2 separate regions of the Homo sapiens genome follow, and region 2 is linked to region 1. The links are contacts of gene promoters, found by promoter capture Hi-C in human tissues and cell types (Jung and others, 2019). All regions are on one chromosome and are shown on one strand. The core of a region is centred on a gene start or on the middle of the fragment in contact, and the rest is flanking DNA. Distances in the headings are between cores, read along the strand shown. Region 1 holds the start of USP4 (ubiquitin specific peptidase 4). Region 2 overlaps QRICH1 (glutamine rich 1).

The links. The method cuts DNA at HindIII sites, captures the fragments that hold promoters and counts their contacts. A contact is called where the count stands out against the background at its distance.
Region 2: a fragment that was not itself captured here is called in contact with the fragment with the promoter of USP4 in region 1 in 2 of the 25 tissues and cell types used here (adrenal gland and liver).

What each region holds. Positions count from the first base shown.
Region 1 is chr3:49,338,179-49,341,317 of GRCh38, reverse strand. It overlaps USP4 (ubiquitin specific peptidase 4), which reads left to right and starts at 1,265. Exons shown (of 22, transcript NM_003363.4): 1 at 1,265-1,394. The coding sequence starts at 1,294. RefSeq lists enhancers at 645-704, 795-964, 595-1,094 and a silencer at 1,135-1,324. The HindIII fragment of the contact is 25,899 bases long and covers 1-3,139 here.
Region 2 is chr3:49,076,385-49,079,465 of GRCh38, reverse strand. QRICH1 (glutamine rich 1) reads left to right here. Exons shown (of 10, transcript NM_198880.3): 2 at 2,428-2,757. The coding sequence starts at 2,449. Among named protein-coding and RNA genes, the nearest start is that of QRICH1, 16 kb to the left of the region's middle. The HindIII fragment of the contact is 7,025 bases long and covers 1-3,081 here.

The sequences.
Region 1 (3,139 bases), core at 16-2,515:
AGTGGCGCCATCTCGACTCACTGCAACCTCGACCTCCTGGGCTCAAGGGATCTTCCTACCTCAGCCTCCCAAGTACCTGGGACCACAGACGCGAGCCACTGCCCGGCTATTTTTTGTATTTTTTTGTAGAGACGGGATTTCGCTATGTTGCCGAGGTTGGTCTCTAACTCCTGGGCTGAACCTATCCTTCCGCCTCAGCCTCCCAAAGTGCTGGGACGACAGGCTTGAACCACCGCGCCCGGCCTGGTTCACACACTTTAATGGCACTTACCACATACTGCTAGGCATTGAGGTTATTTCTGTAACATCTCTTCTTTTCTACTAGATTCTATGAGGGCAGGAACTAGGTCTTATTTTTCTCTGAGGACAAGGACTGTTAGACAAGTGTATGGAGACGCATCTAGACCAACTGCCTGACTTCCTCTTTCCTCTGGGTTTACTTCTCCCTCCAAGAGGAGGGTTGTGTGTGTGAGCGGGGCGACTGGAAAACATAGTGTTCAGGACGTTGTATCTTGTTCCAGGAACTAAGTACACGCCTGGGTAACTAATGTGGAGTACCTCTCCTTCCCCTGTTGCTATCGCCCCTCTGTGGCTGCTTGGCAAGTAGCTCAGTATGAAGAGCTGACGGAATTCTGCGGTGGGCCAGGTGGCTCTGGCGTCGACTGTTTAAGGCGACTGTTAATGACTACAACACACCATTGAGTCTTGGTCCCAAGGCGCTGGTGCACATGGTACTTCCCGAAATCCCTGTAGGGCCGCTGGAGCAGGAGCCCCGATCCCACGTTTGGGCAGCTGACTCGCCTAAGGCCTCCAGCTGAAAGCGGAATTGCAGGGGTGAGAATGAGCAGACCTAACTACCGGGCTTCTCGCACCTGGCCTGCATTTATTTAGGACCACGATAACCTCGAAGGCCAGGCTGGGGTGCCCGATGGGTCGTGGGCTTGCTGCCTAACTCCCTGAGATCGGCGGGCTGAACAGAGCTTCGAAGTGTAGCGCCATCCTGAGCAGAGGAAGGGGCGCCCGAAGGCCGCGTAGCGGGCGGCAGGGCGGGAGGAAGTAGCAGCTGCTGCTCCCCGCCCACCCCTCTCGCGTGTGCCTTTCCGCTCCACTGTTCGCCGGTGAGCTAGGTGGCGCGAGAGCGGAGGGGAGAAAAGACAGCGGCTGCAGGAGCCGAAGGCCGCGGCTCGAGGTGGGGCAGGGGCGGGCACGCGAGCGTGCGTGCGTGGGCGCGGTCTATAGCACGCCGCGCGCGGGGCGGATGTCCGGGCCGGCTGGGCCGGGGCCGCGGAGGAGATGGCGGAAGGTGGAGGCTGCCGTGAGCGACCGGATGCGGAGACTCAGAAGTCCGAGCTTGGACCCTTAATGAGGACCACACTCCAACGCGGGGCGCAGTGGTGAGCTCCCGGCTCGCTCTTCCTCTATGCAGAACCAGGGGCCGAGAAAAAGGGGCCTCCTTTTTCTCGGCTAGAGTAGGGGCTGGGCGGGGATGGTATGTAGTGACCCTGGAAGAGTAGCCTGACACCTGCCCCTCAGGAGAATAACTCCAGGATCAGCTCTGGGAAAGCGCAGGCGGGGCCTGAGTGTCGTCTCAGTTCATTTGGAGCCCTAGGGGGCGGGCCCGGCGGGGGCCAGGAGGAGGGATGTGGAGAAGGGGAAGGTTGGTGGGGACCCTAAGGGTGGGGAGAGCCCTTTACCATGAGGACTCGCCGTGTGACCTTGGGCGAAGGTGTCACAGACCTGGATTCCTCACTGTTAAAACCAGGATAGCAATATTTGGCTCACCGACCTCAGTGGGTTGAGGGGAAAATCAGAAGTAGATACTTTGTAACTTGTAAACTGCCAACAGATGTCAAGGTCAGAAGCTGAACAAATGTCTGAGAACCCCGATTATTTTGGTAGCAAGTGTCAAAAATATTTGCGGCAGCAGTGTCTTGGAGTGGGAGAGGAGGATAGCCTAGGTCCTGGAGCTAGATAGAAGATGAAGGGTCCAGAATTTAGAAGACCCAGGCTGAGTTATTAGGCATCTTAATAGATTGTTTAGTAGAGGGGACAATACTTTGTACTACTGGAGAGATTCCTGGGTGGTGTAATTGTGTAGGAGTAGAAAAACTAAGGCTAGACTTTGCATCGAGTATGATTGTTACCCATCTTGTTTGTTTTGTTTTGTTTTGAGATGGAGTTTCACTCTTGTTGCCCAAGCTGGAGTGCAGTGGCGTGATCTTGGCTCACGGCAACCTCCGCCTCCCGGGTTCAAGCGATTCTCCTGCCTCAGCCTCCCGAGTAGCTGGGATTACAGGCTCACGCCACCACACCCAGCTAATTTTTTGTATTTTTAGTAGAGACCGGGTTTCACCATGTTGGGTAGGCTGGTCTCAAACTCTTGACCTTATGATCCACCCGCCTCGGCCTCCCAAAGTGCTGGGATTACAGGTGGGAGCCACCGTGCTCGGCCCGAGTGTTACCTATCTTTAAGAAATCATTGTGGTGATGATCTGCCGAGGAATTGAGCAGGAGAATAGAAAAATTGGGGTTAGGAGGAGTACAGATAACAGCTTATGTATTCACCTTGAGCTAACCAGTTTGTGAAAGGCAGGGTAAACAGAGGTACTTTTTTTGTGTTTTCTTTTCTTTTCTTTTCTTTTTTTTTTTTTTTTTGAGAAGGAATTTCGCTCTTGTTGCCCATGCTGGAGGGCAATGGCGCGATCTCGGGTCACGGCAACCTCCCCCTCCCATGTTCAAGCGATTCTCCTGCCTCAGCCTCCCCAGTAGCTAGGATTACAGGCATGCGCCACCACGGCCGGCTAATTTTTTTTGTATTTTTAGTAGAGACGGGGTTTCTCCATTTTGGTCAGGCTGGTCTCGAATTCCAGATCTCAGGTGATCGCCCGCTGTGGCCTCCCAAAGTGCTGGGATTACAGGCGGAAGCTACTGCGCCCGGCCTAGCAGAGGTACTTTTTAAGTTAACCTCTATAGGGTTCATAAAGAATACTCAGCAGAAGTAGAGGAAGTTTAAGATAGACTAAAATCATACAGTAAAATTGTATGGAAGGTATTGCTCAAGGGATTTGGAAGAAAAATAGCATTTTAGAGATGGATGTGTTTATGGATCCTTGTGACCTCTGGGAAGCTGCCTGACCTC
Region 2 (3,081 bases), core at 89-2,588, 260 kb after region 1:
TATATTTATATTACATAATTGTAATTATTATAATATTTTATTATAATTATTTATTTTATTTTATTTATTTATTTCTTTTAACAGATGAAAGTCTCTCTAGGTTTCCCAGCCCAAAGACCTGGTCTCAAGCAATCCTCCACCTCAGCCTCCTGAGTAGCTGAGACTACATGTGTGCACCACTGTGACCAGCTGATAACTTAATTTTTTTGTTTGTTTGTTTGTTTGTTTTTTTTAGACAGAGTTACGCTCTGTCGCCTAGGCTGGAGTGCATTCGAGTGATCTCGGGTCACTGCAGCCTCGATCTCTGGGCTCAAGCAATCCTTCTACCTTAGCCTCCGTAGTAGCTGGGACTACAGGTGCATACCACCATACCCAGTTAATTTTTATATATTTTTTGTAGAGATGGGGTTTCTCCATGTTGCCTGGGCTGAGGTGGAAGGATTGCTTGAGTCCGTGGAGCTATGGATATTACAGAAACCAATTGGGTGGCTCACGTCTATAATCCCAGCACTTTGGGAGGCCGAGGCGGGAGGGTCACCTGAAGTCAGGAGTTTGAGACCAGCCAGGCCAACATGGCAAAACCCAGTCTCTACTAAAAATACATAAATTAGCTGGGCATGGTGGTGGGCACCTGTAGTCCCAGCTACTCGGGAGGCTGAGGCAGGAAAATCACTTGAACCTGGGAGGCTGCAGTGAGCCGAGATCGTGCCACTGCACTCCAGCCTGGGCGACAGAGGGAGACTCCAACTCAAAAAAAAAAAAAAAAAAAAAGGACAGGTGTGGTGGCTCACGCCTGTAATCTCAGCACTTTGGGAGGCTGAGGCAGGCGGATCACGAGGTCAGGAGATCGAGACCATCCTGGCTAAGATGGGGAAACCTCGTCTCTACTAAAAATACAAAAAAATTAGCTGGGCGTGGTGGTGGGCGCCTGTAGTCCCAGCTACTCGGGAGGCTGAGGCAGGAGAATGGTGTGAACCCAGGAGGTGGAGCTTGCAGTGAGCCAAGATCAAGCCACTGCACTCCAGCCTGGGCAACAGAATGAGACTCCATCTCAAAAAAAAAAAAAAAAAAAAAAAAAAGGAACCATAATTCTTCGTTTTCCACATTGAATTTCAAATGCAGCAGGTATATATGAAGCAACTACCATGGGTGAGCTATTCGGAGAGAACCAGGACATAGTCTTGTCTACCAAGAACTTAGAGCCTAGGTAGAAGAAAGGAGACGTTTACCCACATATTTTATATCTGTAACATAAGGTAGAGCATCTGGTCAGTCTAGTGTATCTATCCTGATTGCTCAAGGGAACAAATCACCTTTCCAGACATTCAGAATTGTCTGATAATCCTTTTTGGCAAAAACGTTCGCTTGTTTTCTGTTACTCTTTCATCCTGCTGCTACTTTTGTTCTGGAGGTCGGGCTGTTGAAGGGAGGATGGTACAAAGGTAGCAGCGACAGGGGTCAGCAGTCCACAGATTGCACACTTTTCCCTCAGATGATGAGAGTTAACTGTACGTCTGCAGGTTAATTCTTAAGGTAATTAAATACCTGATGAAAACTTGTAGAATTTATTTCTGAATTTTAGTAGTGACCTGGATATTTAAAGCACTATTTACCTTTTTTCCAGAATTATTTTAATAGTATTAGTTACATTTCTGTAGTGCTATCTATGTGCTAGATGATTTTCTAAATGCCTTATTTAATCCTTATGTCAACTGTGAGGTAAGTACTATTGTGTCCCCATTTACTCACAAGAAAACTAAGGTTAATTGACTTTTCTAGAGTTACATAATAAAGGAGACATAAAGTTGGGATTTGAACCCAGGCAGCCTGGCTCCAGAGTCCATGCTTTTAACCAGTAGTAAGCTGTGTTGCAAAAGAATGTGAGCACCACATGGCAAAATAGGATTTTTGGTTTTTCTGATGGGAGATGAAGAACATATCCTCTGCCTCTTGTGTCTTGCCACAACTAGGTGGCATACCTATCTCTGCTGTAGGAAATACTTGGAAATAAAACATATCCATAGGAATCCCTGCCCCTAGCTTCCTCCTTGCTTGGTGTCCTCTCTGTGATGGTCACAGAGCAGTTTTGCATGTGACATTTACTGTCCAGTGCTTGGCTCTGCAGAGAAGATGGGATTGACCTAGTGCTGGGTAGGAAGTGTGTTTTCAGCCTGTTTCATCCAGTATTGTGAAGCATGTGTTTGTTTTTTTGTTTTCAGTGTGATAGTTTTATTTAAGAAATGTTAATAGAAATAATTTTCAAACATCCATTAATTGAAAAAATAAGGTGGTATAATAAAACTTTATTTTTTGATTCTATATGTATACAGCTGCCCTGAATATATTCCACTCTTGTGCAAGGGTAATTGCTTCTGGGCATTTCCTGCTAAAAACAGTAACATAATTTTGACTTCTGTTTATTTCTAGGAACCCTAAGGACTCTGCAATATGAATAATTCCCTAGAGAACACCATCTCCTTTGAAGAGTACATCCGAGTAAAGGCACGGTCTGTCCCGCAACACAGGATGAAGGAATTTCTGGACTCACTGGCCTCTAAGGGGCCAGAAGCCCTTCAGGAGTTCCAGCAGACAGCCACCACTACCATGGTGTACCAACAGGGTGGGAACTGCATATACACAGACAGCACTGAAGTGGCTGGGTCTTTGCTTGAACTTGCCTGTCCAGTCACCACCAGTGTTCAGCCACAAACCCAGCAAGAACAGCAGATCCAGGTTCAGCAGCCGCAGCAGGTTCAGGTATATGGGAAATGCTGAGGTGCAGCCTGTTTAATGTACTTTATTTGTTGTCAGTGTTTTAGTTAGTGGGCTCATCACATCTATGTGGATGTTATAGGTTATTTAACACTAAGATTTTCAAAGTTAATGTGGACTAAAAGTTTTTTCTTTCTTCTCCTTTTTCTTTAAGCTTTTTTTTTTTTTTAAACAAACCCCAGTGTCAAGGACTGACTTTGAATAGATTGCAGCCAGGGATCTGCTTAGCTACCTAGGAAACCCCAACCCAGAAGCGGGTCATCTATGATTGGTTTAGCATCAGGTTCAACGTGACTTGCGTGATGAGTG